7 separate regions of the Homo sapiens genome follow, and regions 2, 3, 4, 5, 6 and 7 are each linked to region 1. Evidence: promoter capture Hi-C in 16 types of primary human blood cells and fetal thymus (Javierre and others, 2016). All regions are on one chromosome and are shown on one strand. The core of a region is centred on a gene start or on the middle of the fragment in contact, and the rest is flanking DNA. Distances in the headings are between cores, read along the strand shown.

Region 1 (3,128 bases), core at 452-2,951:
GTAATCCCAACACTTTGGGAGGCCAAGGTGGGCAGATCAGGAGTTCAAGACTAGCCTGACTAACATGGTGAAACTCTGTCTCTACTAAAAACACAAAATTAGCCAGGTGTGGTGGTGGGCACCTGTAATCCCAGTTACTCGGGAGGCTGAGGCAGGAGAATCAGTTGAACCCAGGAGGTGGAGGTTGCAGTGAGCCGAGATCGCACTATTGTACTCCAGCCTGGGTGACAGAGCAAGACTCCGTCTCAAAAAAATAGAAATTAAAAAAAAAGAAAGAAAGAAAAGAAAAAAAGAAAAAGAAGAAAAGAAAAGAAATTCTAACATTTAGAGGTCAGCTAGGATAGACAGAGACAGTGAAAACCCTTGAGGGGAGGCTATAAATGTGAAAGAAAAACCAAGAAAGAGAGGAGACAAGTGTATCAAATAGTATTGGGAGATCAAATAAAGCGCTGTCATATATGTACACTTACACACACAGAGACAGGATTAAAAGGTCTGACAAAAGGGAGGTAAAGTGGAAATAATTCCTCAGAAAAGATTGGCAAGTAAGGTGAGGAGACAGATCATTTCAACCACTGGGAAATAATAGCATGAAGAGAATGTGTCAGAAGTGATGTTTTAGGTGGGGATCTCAAGGCATGTTCAAATGCTGTTAGGAAAAATCCCACAGCCAGCCAGAAGTCGAAGATACAGGATTAAGGGAAATGACCAGTGGAACAAGATCAGTGAGAAGAAGAATGGGTAAAGGCTCTAGATCATATGTGGGAAGGTAAGTCTTTGATAGAAGGTGGCAGGAAGTCAACTTCTCAATAAATGGTAGCTTAAGATATTTCTTTTATTATTCATATTTGCATCATAGTCCACAGCTCCTGGTTTGTACATATTTGTATTGCAAGAAAGACTTGATGAATAAACAGTTCTAGCTAAAGATGAGGTCCTGAACTAAGTCTACCATCAGCAAAACCTGCAGCTGTTGTAGATTTTACTTACACTATGCTAAATGTTGTCCTCTGAAACTCCAGCTAATGTTGCATGCTTTGAAAAAAAGAAAAGAAATAGAAAACAAAATCCAAGTCAGTAATTGTGAAATGCCAGTAAAGAATGCAGTTTTGAAAAGTAGGGGTAGCGGGAGGAGCAATAACTTAATAAGAATCTTGCTGTTTGCGTATTTTCGATTTCTTGCCCACTAGGTGGTGGAACAGAGTCCCCATCTAAACGACAGTTTTTTTCCTCACAGGTTTGTGTTTCTCTCACAATGCCTACACAGGTCTTTGCAGGCCAAAGAAATCCAAGAAATTCAATCTCTTCAAAATTGCCCCTTGGAAAAACAGAGCGCTCGAATGACAAGTGTGGGGAAGGCGGGAGGCGACGATGCGGAGTGCGGAAACACAAGGACCAGGGGAGCTAAACTACATTTCCCAGAAAGCCACGGGCTGGCCTACAACCACCGCGCCCTCCAAGCCTGCTGGAAGCCTCCGTCTCGCTTCTCCAGTAACCGGTTTGCCGCTGTCCCCTTTTCTAAGGAACGTAGAGAAAGCCAGGGAAGGAAAGGCATTTTACTGCAGCAGCGAAGGTTTAGCCACTAGAGTGTCTTTCTCAGCCGTGGTTATTCCGACCTTCGCTTGTAAAGGCATTGGGAAACCCACGGCCCACGTGACCAGCCCGGGTCATGTGACTCCAGAACCCGGCAGCTGAAGTCTGTTACCCTGACAACTGGTGGACCCGCACAGACCTTCCGGGAAAGCGCGGAATTCAGAGGCAGAGGTAGGTGGTAAGGTGTGAACGCTGGTTTCCCACCCAAATCGCCCTGGTCGAGGCCGTGCTTCATACTCGAGCGAAGGGCTTTAATTTTCCAGGTCATTCCCCTTCTCCGCCCGGAGCCCACGGCAAATGCGTCTTTGTCTTCCCTCCAATTCCCGAACCCGCGCTTCTGGGGACGGGGTCGCAGCCAGGCTTGAGAAGCTTTTAGTGGAGCTCACCCCTGACCAAGCTATTCAGGCCAAGACCTTAACCGCACTTACCCTGAACTGATCGAAAGTGCAAATGAGGGGAAGAGGTGTTACTCTGCACGATGGGGAGGGTATTGTCCGGGTCTGCAAGCCCTCTTCCCCTCCCCCATCTCTACAGAAGAAAGCTGGGATTTGAGCTGCTCTAGGGAGTTCAGGAGCTGGGGGTCGACCCAAGGTTGGGTTCATTAGGTGTCTAGGGGAACGCTTTCCGTTGCAAATCACTGGATTCTGCTTGTGTTCAGCACATAATTTTTGTCGGTCTTCCCTCGCTTCAAAAGAAACATAGTACTGATTTGTGTACTCCATTAACTTTAAGTATTCTTTAAGTATTTTGACTAAATTACTAATTCTTACTAAATTCTATTTGTGTATATTTTGAAACATCCCCGTATCTGGATACAGTCTGCTTTACGAAACTATGCAGTCTGCTTTACGAAACTATTACTATGGATTGGTAAAATAACGAGCCGAGTGATAAGGCAGCACAAACTGTCGTGTGCTTTGCAAGAAAGAAACAGTCCTTTGGATTTGCTAACTTACAGTTTTTAAGATTCCCTGTGAGGACCTGGTTTGTGTTTGAGAGGTACTAATTAACACATGCACACAAACATAGGTTTGGGAAATATTGTAGAGACCACTCTTTAACAATTGGATGTTAACAGATGAAAACATAATTCTGAACGTTGAGTACAAGACATCCTGTCAAAGCTGCTTTTCCAAATCAGTTTGCTTAATGAATTAGGAATCTCTTGACCAGCTCTTACTGGTTAAAAAAAATTGTGCATATATACTGAATCATAACAAATGTCCGAAGTTTAAGTCTGGTCGTGTTCATGATCTGATGGATTTCCTCAAAAGATGTTTATGTCTCTTGTCATTTAGTGTTTCCAATGTTTGAGGTACTTTAGAATGTTTACTTTGGGAGGTCAAAATTGTTGACTATGGCTAACTGTTCCCAAGAAGAGCTAGATGAAGAGTTTGAACAGTTTATGAAAGAGGTAAGTTTATATTTTTAAAAGCTATATTGTCAAATTTGTCTCAAAAGACTCATCCTTCAATTCTGTCATCTCGAAGATACAGTTAGTCCATCACCAAACTCTGAATTCCCATCATCCCTCT
Region 2 (3,384 bases), core at 838-3,337, 710 kb after region 1:
ACAACTAGAATGAGACAGGGCAACCCTGTCTCAAAGCAAACAAACAAAAACAGTAGAAAAGAATGTTTCCTTCTGGGACTTAAAATATAAATGAAAATGTGTTATTTTAAGAAATAATATACAGAAATGCAATTTTAAAACTAAAAACAGAAGATCACGATAAAACTTCATAGTGGTAGGATGCAATATTGCTAGAGGAAAAACAAGAATTAGAACAGGATAGATAAATTTGTCTATTCAACAAATGCATACCACCTGCTAACTCCGCCATGCATTTCGAAGCCTTTATTTTAAAGAATCTCTCTGATAGTCCTTAACTGTTGAGTTGGACTAGAACATTTCTAAGATTTCTTCCAGCTTTAAAGTTCTAGAGTAAACCACAAATGAGAAAACACAAGTAATTTACTCATCAATGCTTCTCAGGAAGGTTCAATTCCTAGTCATCCAGGGAAGAACTTGCCTGTTATCCATGTTGCTACCACTAGATGGCAAAATTAGCCTGGTGATGGCAAATCTAACGCAGGTATTTAAAATGTTTACACTTACTCAGCTGTGAAATAGATTTTATTTTAAAAGCATGTAAGATTCAGCAGGGGCAAAACTTTTAACTGGCTAATAATATACTAAATGGCTGTGACATAGGGAGACATATGAAATTTATTATATTTAGAAAACCCACCTACCTACAGGCCACAGAGCCCATCCTGATGAACTGAGGGCTGATAATGCTGTCTACAGTCAGACAATTTTCTGGCAGATAGTTTTTCAAAAACAGTTGTAGTGCCAGCACACTTCCAGCATGACCTACAGCACTGTTAACTAGTCCCCCAAATGTGCCACAATTTATTTCAATGCTAAGGAAAATCTTGAACCTGCCAAATATTTCACGTTTATCAAATACTTTATAATCCATTACTAAAGGATAAGCTCTCCACTGATTCTAGGCTGAGAATAAATGGCAAGAAAGTTCATTGACAGTGGGCCAATTTCTATTCAAAATATCATACCATAGCACTATTTTCAAGTTTAGTTTCATAAATGGAGACCAAAAAAATGTCTGCTTAAAAAGTTTGGCAGTACTTGAGGGAAAGGAAGATGGTAAAGTTACACAGTTGATTATTTTACAGTAACCCACAACTTCTGTTTCTCATCACAATAAAAAACAAAACCTCCCTTTGTTTGGGGGCTATTTTTCCATGACCTGTACATCTCAATTTGTGCAATCCTATGGATAAATCAAATTTTGGGTGAATGACATTAAAGGAACCCCAAGAGGACTCTTTCATATGCTGCCTTATGAAGTGCACAGCATATAGCTCTAGACTTATCTGTATTTTTCAAGTTGGCCTTTGAGAGCAAAGAATATCTATAAATAGGTATGCTACTTTTCAGGTTTTAAAGCATCTATGGTCACAATGTTTTTAGCTAACCCACATCAGTTTTACCTATACGAAGCTTAACGTTTTTTAGTTATAAAATAATAGCTTGCATACTACTAACTTAACTTTACTGTTTCCTAACCTCTCCATCTCAGATTTCTCATCTGCAAAGTTACCTCAGTGCTAAGGTAAAGTAGCTCTATCCTCCCAAATTCTGAGTCTGATCCTACTGTTAAAATGCAATATGCTTGTTTGATATTTGAGCATTGGGCAGAGGAAAATCATTTACCCAATGGAGAAAATTAACTCACACTAGCAATTGCTTATTTTAACATCTAATGAACACATACTGTATGCCAAGTATATGCTAAACAGTCTCACATTTTAAAACGTGAAAAAGCTTCTTAAAAGCATGCAGTTTTCCCAGCTATCTGGAAGAAAAATGGGGTACAGTATCCACATCTACCACTTCCCTCACTAAAGGAACTCCTCTAATATTTCCTAATAAAAATAAAATTCCATATGATACTTGGCCTCTACCTTCAAGCCTACATGTCTTATTTGGCAGGGATTTTAACATTCTCTCTTCTAAATTATAAACCAGATTCTAAGTATAATTCTCCAGCCAGCAAAATATGACTTTTATAATCCTCTGTGGAGACAAATGTACTTCGGATAAAATAAGAATGAATTTCAGAAGTCAGAAGGGTTAATAAGGGGTGAAAGCCCCCTAGACACAGCAAGCAGCTTCTTTTCAAATCAAGGACAGTGTAAAAATGTCAGAGCAATCAAGCGGGAGTGTTTCTACAACTTTTTAAAAAACCTTTTATTATAGAAAATTTCAAGACTACACAAAAGCACAGAGAAAAGTATTAAGTTGAGAGAAAAGTACAACCCCCATGTGCACATCACCAGCTTCAACTATTGTCAATATTTTGCCAATGTTTCATCCACCATCACCACCCCACACACTTTTTTTTTTCAGCTAGAGTATTTCAAAGCAAGTCAAAAGCTTTTCTACTTCATTTCGCCGCCTCATTTTCTAAACGTTTTCCTATGCTCCTTTTGCTGACCTCCGCAGCCAAGTTGATAAAAGGGTAGAGGGGAGAGGCTAGCTTTCATAGTAACCCCGCCAAAGAGACTTTTCAGGAATGCGTTTCATACCTTTCTCAATGGCATCTGTTAACAATCATAAAAATAAAGAGGGTCCCCTCTGGTACTGCTTAAGCAGAAAGAATTCCATTTATATTCCAATGCAAACATTGTTGTCGTTAATATTAAACTGTGCAGAGGCCGGCACACAGAATTGCCTATGGGAAGGGTGGTTAGTTTCTTTGAGGACTGAAAGAAAGTGTCAAGTTTGATCCCTTTCTTCAAAGTCCTTCAAAGAAGCTCTCCTCGGGTAGGTCCTGCCTTTCTCAGGGAAATTTCTAAGTTCTAAGGTTGTTGGGTTTGGGGAGCTTCATCTTTACCTGCCAGGCTTGTTTGGTCCCCGAGGGCACTGTCAGCTGAGATCAGAGCTCCCGAGGAGGCGGGCGGGGACGCTGCAGCTGGGAGCCTCTCAGCCAGCCTGAGCCGGAGGCCGCCCCGCCAAGGCCGGGCCACAGCACCCAGAGCTCGCCACTGAGACTGCGGAGGGGGAGAGAGCTGCGCCGCACCACGGCCGGGAGATGGGAGGGGAAAGGGGGCGATGACGAGGGGCGGGCGCGGTGGGATGGAGTGGGGGGAGGGGAGGAGGAGGAGGTGGGCAAGAGGAGACGGAGAGGGAGGGCGGAGAGGGGAGTTCCCTGGAGGAACGGGGCGGACCTGGCCGTGTCTCACCCCAGCATTTCTGCCCCCAAGCTGAATTAAGCATTAGGAAAAATTCATGAGTAGGTTCACAGGGGATGCCTGTCCCTGTAATAGTATGCACTCCTTTAACAGTCTCAGGAGTTGTTCAGTTAAGAGTCTCATTCCTCACTGCTTGCTGTTGAGACCCCAGGCATCTAGAAGAACGGAGGGCGTC
Region 3 (3,249 bases), core at 677-3,176, 800 kb after region 1:
TATTATTTAACACCTCTGTTTTTATGTATTCAGTTGTACTATATAATTTTGTATTTACTAACTTGTCTTTTTATTTTCCTTTTTTTTTTTTTGAGACAGAGCCTTGTTCTGTTGCCCAGGCTGGAGTGCAGTGGTGTGATCTAGGTTCACTGCAAACTCTACCTCCTGGGTTCAAGTGACTCTTGTGCCTCAGCCTCCTGAGTAGCTGAGATTACAGGCATGTGCCACTATGCCCAGCTAATTTCTATATTTTAATAGAGACAGGGTTTGGTCATGTTGGCCACGCTGGTCTCAAACTCCTGACCTTAAGTGATCTGCCCGCCTCGGCCTCCCAAAAGTGTTGGGATTACAGGCGTGAGCTACTGCACCCGGCCATAAGTTGTATTTTTTTTTCTTATTTCTTTGATTGTCATAGGGCAGGAGTCACAATATTTAGTACAGTATTTTGCTCAGTAGACATTAAATAAATGTTTACTTAATGAATGAGCCATGTCTTTATTTTTGTCTTTAAACAGAACTCAGCTTTTAAAGTGATAGTTTAGGCATTGTCCTCTTTAAAGTAATTTTGTGAAAATAAATTCACATTGAAGTCTAAAGTTTAGTTCACTTCCTATGCCATTATATAGTATGCTGAAATGTAGTCAGAAAAGTTGAAATGTGGTTTAAGCTTGATAATCTCATGAAATTTTAATTACTTGCTGGATAACCTAAGGGAGGTGCTTCATCTTGGTAAAATCAAAGTTAACAGTAGATATGGTATGAATTCAAAAATTTTCAAAAAACTTAAGAGAATTAGGATCTTCATTTGTTATGATTCATGTATGAGTCTAAGCCTTACTATTTGTTTGTATTAAAATATGCATCATTCAAGGTAGGATTTCATCAAAACAATTGGGGAAGTAAATCTGCCTCATGTTTATGAGATTTAATATTTTTCTGTGCATAGCCCTAACTATTTTTGAGATGCTTATCTTTGCCGGTTTTATATAAATGTGTCTAATTTAATGTTTAATGTTTTTTATTTTCAGGGATATGGTCTAATATAGATGAGTTGTGTTTTAAATTTTTTTCTCAATAATTTTCATGTGACTAATAATATTTCATAAATTGCCCTTCAAAATTAAAATTCTACACATAATAAAATAATCATGCCTATTTTTTATTCTCAATTAGTTTATTTCCCTTTGCAATGGTAGAAAACACTAATTGATAGTTCTATCATAATTGTGCTTACATGGTTTCTATATCTTAAGAGTAAATAATAACATGACCCATAAGTAAATCTCCAAACAACACCACTCTTCCATATTTTAGGCAGTTTGGTTCAGTATAAGTCATGTTTAAGAGTTACGTTCCAGTAGAAGATAGTGTTTTATCGAAGTTAATTTGGGTCATCATTACTAACTTTTACATCTAAAAAATCAGCTTTTGTAGCTGTTTGTTTCCTGGCATGACAAGACCTAGTTGGGTGTGTTGTAAGAAAGAGAGAGAAATAAGATTCATGGCAATGAAGGAAAAGTACCCTAAACCTCTTTTTCTTCAATGTAAACTAGACCTGAATGAATTATTCAGAAAATTTCATCCAACCACATTCTCTAGAGTTGCCTCTGCAACGTGAGAAACTGATTTATTATTTAACATAGAATCCCACTTATGTGAAAGTCATATACAGCCAGGTACCTCTGTATATGTTTGTTACCTTGCTGCAGTGGAAACAACAGTAGTAGTATAGAATATCACAATAACAAAATGTGTGCTGTAATAAGAAAGGTGAGTTTGATATGGTAACTCTTGAGACAGGTGATATGGAGTATAAAAAATATTGAAGAAAGGAATGGATTTGAGATTTTGCCTTTTTCAGCTCTGATTTCCCTCTAACTTTTGGACAGGTAGGGGAGAATGTGATGTAAAGGAATGGACATTCTAAAACTTTGTGCCTAGAAGAAATGAGCCCAAGTCCCAAGCCTCCCAATTAGCTGTGTGATATAGCATCTGGGAAGGTCCTCCTTGCTACATCATCCCATGGCGGAAGGCAAGATGGTAGAGGGTGAGAAGGAGCAAGAGAGGGCTGAACTTGCTTTTATAAAGGAACCCACTCTTGCTTGCAATAACGAACCCACTCCTGCATTAACAATACTAGTCACCTCATAAAAATCCCACCTCTTAACACAGTTGCATTGGGGATTAACAACACATGGACTTTTGGGGACAGATTGAAACCATAGTAGGAAGTCAGGTAATATAATAATGAATAATGTTCTCTAAAAACATGAGAATATAACTGCTAGAGCTTTTCTACTAATATACAGACCCTGGATTTAAAAACACTGGTATTATTTTTTCAATAATCAGGTAATGGTTGAGTAAGAACATCGGCAAAAATACTTGTGTGTTTGATATGGTTTGTCTGTGTTCCTACCCAAATCTCATCTTGAATTGTAGTTCCCATAATCCCCATGTGTTGTGGGAGGGACCCAGTGGGAGGTAATTGAATGATGGGGGTGGTTACCCCCATGCTGCTGTTCTCCTGGTAGTGAGTGAGTTCTCACGAGATCTGATGGTTTTATAAGGGGCTTTCCCCCCTTTTGCTCATTCTTTTTCCTGCCGCCATGTGAAGAAGGATGTGTTTGTTTCCCCTCCCGCCATGATTGTATGTTTCCTGAGGCCTACCCAGCCATGCTGAACTGTGAGTCAATTAAGCATCTTTCTTTATAAATTTCCCAGTCTTGGATATGTCTTTATTAGTAGCATGAGAACAGACTAATACAGTATTCATACCAATGTTAGTAATTATGTTATCAGGCTAGTTGTGATGGCTCACACCTGTAATGCCAGATGTGAGCCACCTGGGAGGCCGAGGTAGGAGGATCACTTGAGCCCAGGAGTTCAAGACCAGACTGGGAAACATAGCAAAATCCCATCTTTACAAAAAAGAAAAAAAAATACAAAAAGCTGGGCATGGTGGTGTGCACCTGTAGTCTCAGCTACTTGAGTGGCTGAGGTGGGAGGCCACAGTGAGCCATGATCACACCCACTGCACTCCAGCCTGTATGACAGATTGAGACCTTGTCTCAGAAAAACAAAACAAAGCAAAACAAAACAAAAGAATAAAACCTTAGAGATCCAGAGGCTGAAGGAGTTCTAAGACTTCCATTGTACTATTAGGCATTGGCCCTTTAAGCTTAGAATATATTTAAATACATTTAAATTGTCTATTCAGAGTCTTAAGATGGCCATCTAGTAAGTCCA
Region 4 (3,404 bases), core at 876-3,375, 600 kb after region 1:
AGTCTGGAATTCTGGATTCAAACATTATTTGATCCAGAGAGATTAAGGCAAGTGCTCTACGTCAGTGGTCTCAACAGCAAGTGACTTTGCTTCCCTCCCCTCCTCAAAGGATAGCATTTAGAGATGTTTTTTTGTTATCACACTGGAGAGGGTGTCTACTAGCATCCTGTGGGTAGAGGCCAGGGATGCTGCTAAACATCCTACAGTGCACAAGACACCCCCCAACAAGAATTATCTTCCCCAAATGCCAATAGTGCCAAGACTGAGAAACCCTGCTCTAGACACAGAGAAGAAAGAGGAAAGAAGGTAGTTCAGCATTTGACACACAAATGGATTTTCTGATCTCCAGTTTGCTTTATTGTCTTTGTAGCAGCCCAGCACTTTTGCTTCATGTGTTTACTTCTACATTTCCATCAGTATAATCAAAGCTCTTCATTTCTCAAGGAGATACACTTTGGCTTAACCCACTTTGTTTCTTTGAACCTCAATTTCATTATTTATATAAAAATGATACGATTGAACTTGTGATTTGTGTTTTTCCCCAACTTTTCACTTTGAATAATTTTCAAACCTACAAAAGAATTTATGTATAATGAATAAATATGGTCTCTTCATTGATTTACCTTTATTAATATTTTTTCATATTTGCTTTTCCTCCCTTCTCTCTTTCTCTGCCCCTATCCCCATGCTAACAAAATTAACAATATGCATATACTTTTATCTGGTAATTCCACTTCTACAAGTATATCATACAGATATATACATTACACATGCAAAATGGTGTGTGCAGCACTGTTTGCAATGGCAAGAGATCAAAAGCAACTTTAGTGTCCATTAATAAGTTACTAATTAAATATAGGACAAGGAAGTTCTATGCAGCTGTTTATTAAATGAGGATATTCTGTGTGTTGATATGGATATATGTCTAAGATATATTTTTTAGTGAAACATAAGTTCATTATATATAATATGTTATTATTTGTGTTGTAATGGGGAAATAAGTATATATTTGTATAATTTCATATTTCCTTGAATATACATAAAGAAACTCTGAAAGGATACATAAGAAACTAACAAAGTTAGGTCTGTGGGAGAAAGAGTGGAAATTATACCCTGAATGAGTTTTAGAACTAAATGAGCATTCCCTATCCAGAAGCTGGGCATAATTAACTACTAAATTTAGTCTAAGCAGTGTTTTACATTTTGAGCTTCTGTTAACTAAGGATACCATTACATTTTATGCTTCAATTTGTTGTCATTTGTTTTTGGATTCTAGTAGAATTCTATACATTTGTTATGTCTAACTATATTAATGAAATTACTGCTCTATTATATTGAGTGAAAAACTGCATAAAAAGCATATGTTCCAAGTGAGAGTGATACATAAAATAATTCATTTACACCAATATTGAGCTGTTTAAACTAATTGTGTAGGTGATCTTCCATTAAATGAAAAAAATTAATTTTAAAAGTTCTACTAATTTCTAATTTTTTAAATCCACAGCAAGTTGGTATTGATAAAGGTGACATTCCTGACCTCACACAGGTAAGCAACTCTCCCAGTGGAAGATTCAGTATGCATGAGATTATTACAACATATATTGCCACAAATGGGCATAGTCTTGTAAGCATTTCATGCATTTTGAACTTAGGCCAACCAACTTTCTTGGAAATTATTCTACCTTATTTATTGTTTCTAGCCATTGAATATATTTCTGGAGGTAATAGGAAGATTTTCTTGTTCTTATGATATAGTTTCTTCTTTAAACGCAACTGAATTTAGTAAATGAACTCATCTTTTCATTTTAAACTTGATCAAAAGGAAACCTTGAATAATGTTAATAGAAATGCTTTGGCTATGAAAAGTCACTATTTCTAGGCCTGATAATCAGAATATTAGAACTTTTCCTCCTGCTTGTCTTCCTAGTTTCCAACATGTCCCAGATATGAAGGAGACCCATGAATAGGGAAAACTCTGATGTCACAGTTGAACTACTTGTCTCCCCTATGAAATGGAGAAATGTCCATGTATAAAATAAGCTAATAAAATAGTAGTGGTAGATGAGCAATTTTTCTGGAGCCCATCTAGTAAATGACAACAATAGAGGGGCTTCTGTATCAATCATTTTATCTGTGAAGAGGGTACTGTGTATGGATCCTAATATATAGATTCAAGGTCATTCATGGGTATAGTATAACCTTTCTCATAATTGGCAGGAACTGTTTTTACTTAAGCACTCTGTTATGGTACAGTTATATCCCAAACATGTTATTTAACTAGCAATGATGTTATTGTAGAGATGATAGGAGAAAACACAGAGCTGCTATCTTATTTACCAGTAATGAATATATGAACTTTCTGTCCTTGTAAATATAGTCATTATAATAGAAAAAATTGTCATAATGAAAGATACCTACTTGTTAATAATATCAAAGTGCATTTAGTAATTTGCTGTCCTTATTATGCCTTGAAATGTTTCCATCTTTAAAATAATATTAATCCTTAAGTTTTTATTAAAAATTAGGGAAACTCAAAGAAATGTTATTTGTATTATTAAAATGCCAATTAAATATCAAGAATTCTTTATGAATAAAATTCACAGAGCAATCCAGAACATGATGGCATTGTATTTTTTAGTGAAAAGTTGAGAAGCAGTTCTTTTTCATAGACAGAATATTGGTATAAAATATTTCTGCTACTATGAGAAAACAGTGTTTTTTGACGAGGCACATACCTGAATAAGATATTGGTATCATTTTGGATATGGCCAAAAAATTAAGTGTGCATAAAGTGCCACTAAAAATCTCTTTATTAGATATAGATTTATCTTTGTAACACTATAATTAAAAGCAAAGAAAATAAGTGTGTTTTCATTTAAACTAATCATTTTTAGTAAAATTTATAGTACATTTTAAAAAATAATCCACATAAGTAATACATGTTAACTTTTAAGACATTAAAATATTTAGCTCTGATATTTAGAAGCTAATGAATAGCTTCTAGAAGTGGCAAATCATCTTTATTTCACATCTATGGACACCCTTACTGTAGAATAAAAGAGAAAGTAGGCTCTCAGTTAAGAATATAGGTCCTCATCTATCATACTTAGTTTGGGCAGTCTGAAAGGAAACAAGGAAATATTCAAATGACTACTTAAATCTGTTTTTGCTTTTAACATTAGACAATGAGAGCATGTCATTGAAAGTACATCATTGAAATCATATACTTGGATTAAATTTTTAATGATACTATTATAGTCATTATAATATTTATAATCTCCCCCTCAAGAAGCCCAGAAACATTATATTTTACTGAATGATTTAAGATGTGTGTTTTCATAATTTAGGGAACAGAGACTCCTCCCTCAAAGAAAGTAAAATCTTGCCCTGGGTCTGTTAGAAAG
Region 5 (3,054 bases), core at 314-2,813, 690 kb after region 1:
AAAAGTGGCCGAACGCAGTGGCTCATGCCTGTATTCAATCCCAGCACTTTGGGAGACTGAGGTGGGCAGATCACTTGAGGTCAGGAGTCCAAGACCAACCTGGGCAACATGGTGAAATCCCATCTCTACTAAAAATACAAAAATTAGCCTGGCATGGCGGCATGTTTATCATGCTATAATGTCAGCTACTTGGGGCTGGGGCAGGAGAATCACTTGAACCTGGCAGGCAGAGGTTGCAGTGAGCCGAATCATGTGACTGCACTCCAGCCTGGGCAACAAAGTGAGACTCTGTCTCAAAATAATGTAGTAAAAGTAAAAATATAAATATTAAAACCACTATATATTAAATAAAATATTTTATGAAAAATACTACTCTTTGCTTCTATGAGTGTGACTTTTTTAGATTTCACATATAGGTGAAATCTTAGAAACTTAAAAAAGTGGTCCCGTTTTGCCATTTTTGCAAATCTCTTTAATTTTAGACTTAACAGAAGACAGCTGCATTCTCATATCTGCTTCTGCATTCAACATGTTACAATAGCCCATGTCAGGTAGTTATTGGAAAATTCTGTTGTGAGCACACTTGTGGGAAAGTGAGTGTCTTAGTATTACTGTGAAGACAGTTTTGACATGGACGTTCTGAAAGGTTCTCTGGCATCCTTAGGAGTCCCCTGACCACACTGGAGGATGGGTGCTCCAGCTGGGAAATGGGCTGGCATGGCATGAGAAGCATCCATCGCAGAGATTAAACTCCATTTCTTGGAGACTCCTTACGCAGTTTCCAATATCCAGTGACACTTTCTAAGAACATAAAGATGCTGATGGATGCTTTTGGCCAATGATAAAATTTAAAGTGTTTCTACTTGGAGATCAAAAATATTAACAAACATACTTTGTGAATTGACGATGACTTTTTTAAAGAAAAAATATTTAGTAATGGATTAGACTGAGATGGAAGATGATATTGAACATAAGAATATTGAGAGTGAACACAGTAGTGTGGTGCAGGTTGCAACCATCAGGGCTGGAGGAGGGTGAAAATTTTTAGCAAAAGCCTATGACTACAAGAGACTGTAGCCTAGAACAGCACCCAGGCCTGCAAACAGTAGCCCCACAAAGCGGCAGGGCCTGGAGCGGTCCCCTTGCAATAAAGATAAAGGGAGACAGTCACCTCTTAGTGATCATTTTCTCTGGTGTTAAACCACCCTTTGATACTAAATTCATCTCCAGACACCCAACATCCTTGTGGTTCATCTTTCTTTTTCAGTGTATGAAACATCTTTGGGGTAAGTTAACTACTTTTATAATTTGTAGCGGTATCTGTAAACCAGAACCCACAATGGTCTGAAAAGTCTTATAAATGTGTCCCAAGGAAAGTCGGAGTTATTTTTTAAATCATCCGTATTTTGGATCACGTGGATTTTGGCACTGTATTGAAAAACAGGAAATGCAGTTGTGACCATGCATGTAATATTTCAGATGTAAATTTAGGACCAGATTTTTAGAAAACCTGTCTCTTAGGGAAAAAAAATTAAGATTTAGAGATAAATTAAAAGGAACATTTTGTTTAGACCAGAAAAAGAAAGGTAGCTAGGTGTGGCAGCTCATGCCTACATGTAATCCCAGCACTTTGGGAGGCCAAGACAGGCAAATCACTTGAGCCCAGGAGTTCAGCACCATCCTGGGCAACTTGGCAAAACCCTGTCTCTAAAGAAAATGCAAAAATTATCCAGGCATAGTGGCATGCGTCTGTGGTACCAGCTACTCGGGAGGCTGAGGTGGGAGCATTGCTTGAGCCTGGCAGATTGAGGTTGCAGTGAGCCATAGTTTTATCACTGCACTCCAGCCTGGGTGACAGTAGGGACTCTTTCAGAAAGAAAGAACAAGGAAAGGAAGGAAGGAAGGAGAAAGAAATGAAAGAGAGAAAGGGAAGGAAGGAAGGAAGGAAGGAAGGAAGGAAGGAAGGAAGGAAAAAGAAAGAAAGAAAGAAGAAAAGAAAAGAAAGAGAGAAAGGGAGGGAGGGGAAGGAAGGAGAGAAAGAAAAGAAAGAGAAAGAAGCAGAGAGAAAAAGAAAAGGGAGGGAGGGAGGGAGAGAGGGGAAGGAAGGAGAGAGAGAAAGAACCAAAGAAAGAGAAAGAGAAGGAAGGAAGGAAAAGAAAGAGAAAAGAAGAGAGGGAGGGAGGGGAAGGAAGGAGAGAGAGAAAGAAAACAAAGAAGAAAAGAAAGAAAAAAGAGAAAGAAAAGAAAGGAAAGGAGGGAGGGAGGAAGGAGAGAGAAAAGAGAGAAAGGAAAGAAAGGAAGAAGGAAAGAGAGAAACAAAAGAGAAAGAAAAAGAAAGAAGGAAAGAAAAGAAAGAAGAAAGAAAAAGAGAAGGAAGGAAGGAGAAAGAGCAAAGTTAGAAAGTTAGAAAGAAAGAAGAAAAGGGAAAAAAAGAAAAAGAGGAAGGAATGAAGGAGAAAGGAAAGTTAGAAAGTCGGAAAGTCAAAAATCAGAAAGAAAAGAAAGAAAAAGAACGAACGAAAGAAAAAGAAGAAAGAGAAAGAAAGAAAAAGAAAGAAGGAAGAAGGGAGGAAGGAAGGAAAAAGAAAGAAAAGGAAGGAAAGAAAGAAAAAGAAGAAAGGAAAGAGAAAAAAGGTGTAGATGCTATTTGAGTTCAGAACAAAATATAGTTATATGACTTACTGGTTATGTTGTTAATTAATAGGTTAGTTCACTATAGAACCACGTTTTTTATTTAACTTTCTTGTCATTATTAAGGGTATTGTCAATGTTATTGATAAGTATCCTACAACACTTTTTAACATACATGTCTAAGAATGAACTCATTATCTTTTTCCCCAAGCCTAATCTTTCTGTCTTGGTCAGTGTTCTCACCATCTACCCAGTCTCCCAAACCAGAAGTTCAGGGAACAGAACACCCTCAACTCTTCTCTCCTGTATTCAAAGGCCACTAAGTATAGTAAACATTCAGCTCTCTAAATATCTCACAAGGTGTCCTCTCTTGCCTTTCTCTCTGCCTTTTCCTTACCACGGCTGCTCCAGCAGTCTCTGTAT
Region 6 (3,264 bases), core at 511-3,010, 620 kb after region 1:
TCTGGAGGGGCAGCAGCAGCCGCAGCACCAGCACCACCACCACCTGCTGGAGGAGCCACTGCATGGGGAGGTGAGTAAAACCAGACAACCTTGCCATTTCTCTATTCATTTTATTTCATTGTTTTTACTTAGGCTATAATTGTTAACATTTACCTTTTGATTATCTAAAATGGTATTAGAAACTTGGAGGGAAAATGTTAAGAATGGCATTTATTGATTGAAATATATATTGAGAGAGAGAGACAGAGAAAGTGCCTGTAATACAGTGAGAATGTTCAAATAGTCATATAGTTTTTATTTTAACAGTTGGAACAAGGAAGTTTTGTGGGTTTTTTGTTGTTCTTTTTTATTACTACTCTAAAATTCTGATTATTTTTAGTAATTGTTCTCTAGAGACTCAGGCCTTGAGGATTGAGTATTCCCCTTAATTTATGGTTACTCAAAGGTAACATTTCCAATTTGGTTTGGTCAGGTGTAGCCTCGTTCCTGGATTCTTTTAGGCCTGAATTGATTTTATTCACATTGTATTTGACTTCATACAGTTGAAATCTTTTTACAGATTCTTATTTGTACCAGAAAAATCCATACTTTAAACTGATTGACTGAGAGGAATCACATCTAAGCACTTGATTCCCACTTTATTTATGGATCTCAGGAAAAAAATCAGCCTTTTATAAATATTTGATTTAAAACATTTAATATTAATATAAAAATTAAAGTAATTGCTTCATAATGCTCAAAGCTGCAAAGAGTTGGTTTTAAATACCATGCCTTCCTGTACCAAACTATCAGAATAAAATTTTCAAAAAGTTTAAGACATGCCTTGTACAACTATAGGAGCAACAGAAATAAAAGACTTAGTAACTCACTAATGAGGAAACCAGCAAGATGATAAAGCTGTCTCAAAGAACATTTTGAGGAACTGAGTATTTATAGGTATTTTAAAAGGAATGTTAGAATAAGATGGCTAGGTTAGATAGAAAGCTGTTAATGACCTATAGGGTAATAAAAATCATAGCCTTGAGGTTATCTTTTCTCCCATACAGAGATTATTTGCATCACTAGCAGACAAGATCTGTAACAACATAACATTGGAGAATCAGAGCCTTTAGTGCACAATAATAACTAAGTCAAATGAAGTTATATTTCTCTAAATAATTGAATGTCCTTTGGTGGTCTTGTTAAACAGTGTGTCAGTATAACATCAAAAGTCCTATCTGTAATCTCTTGATCTCATTTCCAAGTTATTTTGGTAACAAAAATAAGAGAAAGATAACCAGTTCTGAAATAATGTTGCTAACTATAAATAAGAACATTTAAAATGTTGGCACGTTTCCATTTTAAATATGTAAACCTTATCCTATATTGAAATGTTCAACTCCTAAGGCTACAGCTATCAATTTTTAAAATAAAATTGTTCTCTCAGCTTTATTTAACTTTATTAAATTTCTATTGGTAAAGGAAAATATTGCTAAAGAGATTTTATAAGGGCATTCTTTTTTACTCATGTTTTTATTCTGAGCTTCATCACTGATTATTTTAATTTGCTAATAATTTATTTTCATTACCATATTGTCTTTGTTAGAACTTTAATGAATAAACAGTGAAACTGTAAACTAGTCCCTTTTCCATATTCCCTGGCATGAAACTGAAGATAAATTTTATCTTTTTTTAAAAAATTTTGGCACTAAAAGAATGCCAAATAAAAGGAAAAAATAAAAGGTGAAATTTTGTTGAATTGCAATATAACATTTTTATTCATTTTCATCTCTAAATACTTTTTGCTAAGACACATAATATTGTAAGGAATTGATTGTAATAACCAATTTTATTAGAATACATTTTAGCCTTTAAAGTTAGAAATATGTAACTATTGATGATTGAAACATTAACATACCATTGGACATAAAAAGACAAAGCAGAGCAGTATGGTTTTAGCCAGGGCTGTACTATACAGACAATGTAGATCATGCATTGCTCAAAGGCAGGGCAAGGGGGCTGAAATCCAGCCAGAACTCTATAGTCACGCTGTGAGCCTTTCTCATTATCCTTGAGAAAGAGATGCTTTACTTTTTCTAATCTGTCTCACTACAGGGAGTACCTTTTTTTTTTCTTCTTTTTAAGATATTATAGCTTTTATTTTAGAATATAGCTTTTATTTTATTTTCAAATTTTAGCCATAAGACAGTAAAACGAACTCACTGATTTACCAAAGACAGTTGGATTAAAAAAACTGAGTGCAGTGGCTCATGCATGTAGCTTCTGAGGAGGCTGAGATGAGAATCTCACTTAAGCCCAGTAGTTAAGAGTCCAGCCTGAGCAACATAGTGAGATCCTTTCTCAAAAATAAAGAAAAAAAAATCACAAAAAGGCAGTTGGATCCAAATTATATTTCTGACAAAATGGGGCTTGTTCACATGGCTAAACATCAGTTGTCCCAATAGGTAAGCTAATGGGCCAAAATTTGGGGTAAAGCAGTTTCCATAGTAGTTTGATTTTAAAAGCATATTTTTATGCTTTTTTCAGTTATTTTAAATGACTATAAGGTTAAAGTTTTTTTGATAAACACATAAGATTAATTTTACAATAAAAACTAAGATAGCTCTCAAGTTACAATGAAAGCTAATATTGATTGAGTGCTCCTGTGACAAGTACTATGCTGGTCATCACTACACTTACCCAAGAAAGGTACTATCTTTAACCTGTTTAAAATGATAAATATGTGAAAACCATGTAAACTTTCTTATTTCTTTCTTTTTTAACTTTAAGTTCTGGGATACACATGCAGAATGTTTGTTACATAGGTATACATGTGCCATGGTGGTTTGCTGCACCTATCAACCAGTTATCTAGGTTTTAAGCCCCGCATGCATTATGCATTTGTCCTAATGCTGTCCTTCTCCTTGCCCCAGGGAGTACGTTTTTATAATTAGTACAAAGGCACCTTATAGGGCCTGATGTTCACCTTTTGATGATTAGACAGCACTTTTGCCGCAACAAAACATCTACAACTGCAACATTTCATAGCAATAGAAAAGTCAGCTTTGGGGGGAAATGCTAATAAAGAAATTCTCTAATTTCTAAGCAAAATAGTAAAAATTATAAGACTTTAAGAAATTGAAATAAACTTCTACAATTTGCCCGGTGGATACCCAGTCATGGTTGAAGGTGATGCTAAATTGTAACAGATATGTGTTTGTTTATTTGACTAAGCAAAAAAATAAAATTGTTTTCTCAATCTTGTTTGATAAGATCAAGCCACTT
Region 7 (3,335 bases), core at 718-3,217, 640 kb after region 1:
AGTACACTTAACACAAACCACAGCTGGTTACTTGGAGAAATAAACTGCTAGTTTGCCTGGCTTTTATCCAGGCCTAGATATTCTTATATCAGCTTCCAATTGGCTACAGAAACTTTCAAACTCTTACTAAACCAATAAACTTCATACACATTTTGGGGGTTCAGCAATAAGATTTTAACATGCCACAGAAATAGCATAGTTTTAATGGCTATTTGAGGGATCATGACCTTGTTAACTTTAAAATGAGATTAGTGATTACAAACATTTTGCTTTGAAGTTATAATTAAGATTAAAACGGCCCATAAAATCAAATATTCTGGCCTTTCACAGAAGCCTATGAATTCTTTCTTTCTCTCCTGGGTATCCCATCCCCTGCCACAGATCTCAAATGGGAATTTGAAGCCTACCAGACAGTAGCCTGGCAGAGCGGTCAGCCACTGTTGACCACCTCCAGTGCTACACAGCCACATTGTCTACTCCAGGATCCTCCTCCATTGTGGCCTCTCTGTGTCCTCCAAGGCTAGAACCTGAGATATTGTGTTTCTCAAAGAGCCCAGAACACTAGAAACTGGAGCTGAAAGGCCTTTTCCTGTGGGAAAAGGGAGTGTTCCCATCCAATTCCAAGTTAGAAGTCAGTAACAGAGCCAAGAGATTTGACCCTGGGGGATGCAATAAGAATCTAAAAACACATCTAGAACAAGCCTGAAGGGGTTTGTCACCTGCTGCCAGGTGTAACTGCACATACCTGTGCCACAGCTGCACAGCTTGGTATATGGACAGGTCCAGCAGGGGAAGTCTACAAAAAAAGTATGTTAGTTCACTTTACAAAAAATAAAATTATTCAATTGTGTTGTCTATTCTGAAATCTTATTAAAATGGGGTAGAAAAGAGGAGAAAATCATCAATGAAAGTACCCAATGTCATCTACATAGGTCTCATTTACTACACACTTTCCATTTCTTCTACTGCATCTTCTTGTGACTCTTTCAGTGATAGGCAAAGTTATATATTGTGTACACTTTCTTATTTCTCTCTTTTCTATTTAAATAAATTAATATTCAATGTAAATCAGTATAGATGAGTTTAATGTCTCATTTGCTTTCAAAACAGTTCTTGTAATTTAATGTATACATATGTCAGTGCCTGATTTATTTGGCACAATGTGAAATATTATTTCACCTTATATCCTGATATAAGGGGTTGGATGCAGTGTCCCACAATCATAATCCCACCACTTTGGGAGGCCCAGATGGGCAGGATCACTTGAAGTCAGGAGTTTGAGCCAGCCTGGCCAACATGGTGAAACCCTAATCTCTACTGAAAACAAAAAACAAAAATAAGCTAGCATAAGAAATTTTAACTTTTAATTTCCATAGGGCTTAATTTTGGGGGCTAATTTTTCATACTTCCCTGTTTTCTTATAGAAAAATATTTCTCACGCTTGTTCAAGTATCAAAGCATAAGGAAGTCATATTCTCACTAAAGAACATCATGGAATATTAATATAATTCTATCCTGTGAACTAGGAGCAACTTTCCTAGCCAAAAACAAAAAAATAAAAAATGAAAAAAATTCTGCTAATAAACGCAATATAAAACCACAGTCACATTTATATTTGTAACCTAGCTGACAATTGGCTGTTTCTGAGTTTTCACAATTCTCGTACATTTTTATTTAATGCATATTAAGTAGGACAAATATTTGGGGCACTGTGTGTAGTAATTTGCAGTGAAGCTTAGCATTTGTATTATAGTTGTGTCTGTGTTTATTTGGGGGAGGGATCAGCTAAGTCCACAGTCTATTGAAACTAAGAAGATTTTTAAAAAAAAATAAATAAATGAGCCTAGTCATACATAGCAAGCCCACAAATATGATCAGAATCAAAGAGAGAGAAGAGAGAAAAAGATTCTCTAGAATCCTGTGATTGCCTTTAGTAATAAAACTGTTTTGAGAAAGAATGAAAAAGAAAAATAATATGCAGACACTGTCATGGGAGGTTTAGACTGTTCAAAGGGAACCTTGGTCACTGGACTAAGGACTCTTACCCCATGCCTAAGATTAGATTTTTTTGAGTGAATACATTTACATGTGAATCATAAAGATAAGGCAATAAATATATGATATAATTAAATTTTAAAATGATTTTAGAGATTTTAAACTAAACATTAAGAACCATTTTAAAATTGAGGCGAAAGCTTTGTTAAAAATTGGTATCATTTTGAAACTTGAAAACAAAGACTAACTAGATAGTCTTGAAAATGAACCTATCTATCATAAAAACTATTCTTCTTTATTCAAATTCAGTTTTAGAACTGTCAGATAATACCAATTCCAGAATTAAACAGCACTTGAAATATTGCCTTAGTCGTCTTCTACCCCTTGAGTAAAAATTTTAAGGTGTTTGGTGCATGCAGTATAGTGAAATGATAAAAAATTCTGGAGAGGACAACTTCCAAAGAGGCCAGACTAGAAAAATCATTATCAAAATAATGAAGAAAGGAAGGAATAATGGGGGTGGGGGGAAGCAGAGGGGAGAATCCATAACAACAATGAGTAATTCTTTCCAAGCCATTGAGATTACTGGTAGGATACAGATATTATCCATATCTCAGGTAACATCTGAATGAAAACTTGAAAGTTAAGTTTTTAAATAATAAAAGTAAATATTTCATACAGTGAAGAGTAAAGCTGTCAAACTCTGCTCAAAATATACCAACTGAAAATACAGATGTTTGAAAGCTAGAGGCAGACTACTGGATGACAAAGGTAAAAATGGACTGTTAAGGAAGTTAGGTGTGTTGAGGAATATGCCTAACATCTGAGGTTGGCATCGAGCAGGACAACCATGTTTTTCCATCATAGACACAATTTTAGGGTGACTGCACTATAAATCTGTACTAGTATAAGAGAATTTCACATCCTATCTTTAATTGCAAAGACAAGGGACTATATGGTCCAGCCTATGAGGCCCTTTGTAGTTTTGCATTTGTTCTCTTAACCACATTAATTGCTTAAAATGAGCCACAGAAGTCCTTGAACTGAATTTAAAATACAAACATGCCCAGTGTGGCATTAAAAAGTAACAATTTCCTATAAAAGGTAAAAGTCTACAGAGGATCAATTCTATCATCCTGTGTGGAAGTGTCTTTAGCAGTAGTTTTAAAATTGCACTCTTGTGGCCGGGCACGGTGGCTCATGCCTATATAATCCCAGCACTTTGTGAGGCCGAGGCGGGCAGATCACAAGGTCAGGAGATCGAGACCATCCTGGCCAACATGGTGAAACCCCATCTCTACTAAAAATACAAAAATTAGCTGGGTGTAGTGACACACGCT

What was found. The method cuts DNA at HindIII sites, captures the fragments that hold promoters and counts their contacts. A CHiCAGO score of 5 or more calls a contact.
Region 2: a fragment that was not itself captured here is called in contact with the fragment with the promoter of CEP162 in region 1 in 1 of 17 cell types (monocytes); the score reaches 5.0 in monocytes.
Region 3: a fragment that was not itself captured here is called in contact with the fragment with the promoter of CEP162 in region 1 in 1 of 17 cell types (monocytes); the score reaches 5.1 in monocytes.
Region 4: a fragment that was not itself captured here is called in contact with the fragment with the promoter of CEP162 in region 1 in 4 of 17 cell types (monocytes, M2 macrophages, M1 macrophages and 1 more); the score reaches 7.5 in monocytes.
Region 5: a contact is called between a fragment that was not itself captured here and the fragment with the promoter of CEP162 in region 1, in 1 of 17 cell types (monocytes). The highest score is 8.0, in monocytes.
Region 6: a contact is called between a fragment that was not itself captured here and the fragment with the promoter of CEP162 in region 1, in 4 of 17 cell types (M2 macrophages, M0 macrophages, monocytes and 1 more). The highest score is 8.3, in M2 macrophages.
Region 7: a contact is called between a fragment that was not itself captured here and the fragment with the promoter of CEP162 in region 1, in 3 of 17 cell types (M2 macrophages, monocytes and M1 macrophages). The highest score is 6.2, in M2 macrophages.

Annotation. Positions count from the first base shown.
Region 1 is chr6:84,226,216-84,229,343 of GRCh38, reverse strand. It overlaps CEP162 (centrosomal protein 162), which reads left to right and starts at 1,701. Exons shown (of 27, transcript NM_014895.4): 1 at 1,701-1,764; 2 at 2,892-3,007. The coding sequence starts at 2,951. RefSeq lists enhancers at 1,226-1,385, 1,287-1,787, 1,788-2,288. The HindIII fragment of the contact is 5,497 bases long and covers 1-1,964 here.
Region 2 is chr6:83,512,162-83,515,545 of GRCh38, reverse strand. PRSS35 (serine protease 35) reads right to left here and starts at 3,012. Exons shown (of 2, transcript NM_153362.3): 1 at 2,852-3,012. The HindIII fragment of the contact is 612 bases long and covers 1,782-2,393 here.
Region 3 is chr6:83,424,855-83,428,103 of GRCh38, reverse strand. All of the region lies in intron 1 of ME1 (malic enzyme 1), which reads left to right. Among named protein-coding and RNA genes, the nearest start is that of ME1, 4.6 kb to the left of the region's middle. The HindIII fragment of the contact is 2,514 bases long and covers 670-3,183 here.
Region 4 is chr6:83,621,443-83,624,846 of GRCh38, reverse strand. SNAP91 (synaptosome associated protein 91) reads left to right here. Exons shown (of 30, transcript NM_001242792.2): 9 at 1,505-1,546. Among named protein-coding and RNA genes, the nearest start is that of SNAP91, 86 kb to the left of the region's middle. The HindIII fragment of the contact is 8,728 bases long and covers 1-3,404 here.
Region 5 is chr6:83,536,463-83,539,516 of GRCh38, reverse strand. No RefSeq gene overlaps it. Among named protein-coding and RNA genes, the nearest start is that of PRSS35, 25 kb to the right of the region's middle. The HindIII fragment of the contact is 3,407 bases long and covers 1-3,054 here.
Region 6 is chr6:83,602,491-83,605,754 of GRCh38, reverse strand. SNAP91 (synaptosome associated protein 91) reads left to right here. Exons shown (of 30, transcript NM_001242792.2): 14 at 1-70. Among named protein-coding and RNA genes, the nearest start is that of PRSS35, 92 kb to the right of the region's middle. The HindIII fragment of the contact is 4,845 bases long and covers 1-3,264 here.
Region 7 is chr6:83,585,992-83,589,326 of GRCh38, reverse strand. The region is part of intron 22 of SNAP91 (synaptosome associated protein 91); the gene reads left to right. Among named protein-coding and RNA genes, the nearest start is that of PRSS35, 75 kb to the right of the region's middle. The HindIII fragment of the contact is 461 bases long and covers 1,737-2,197 here.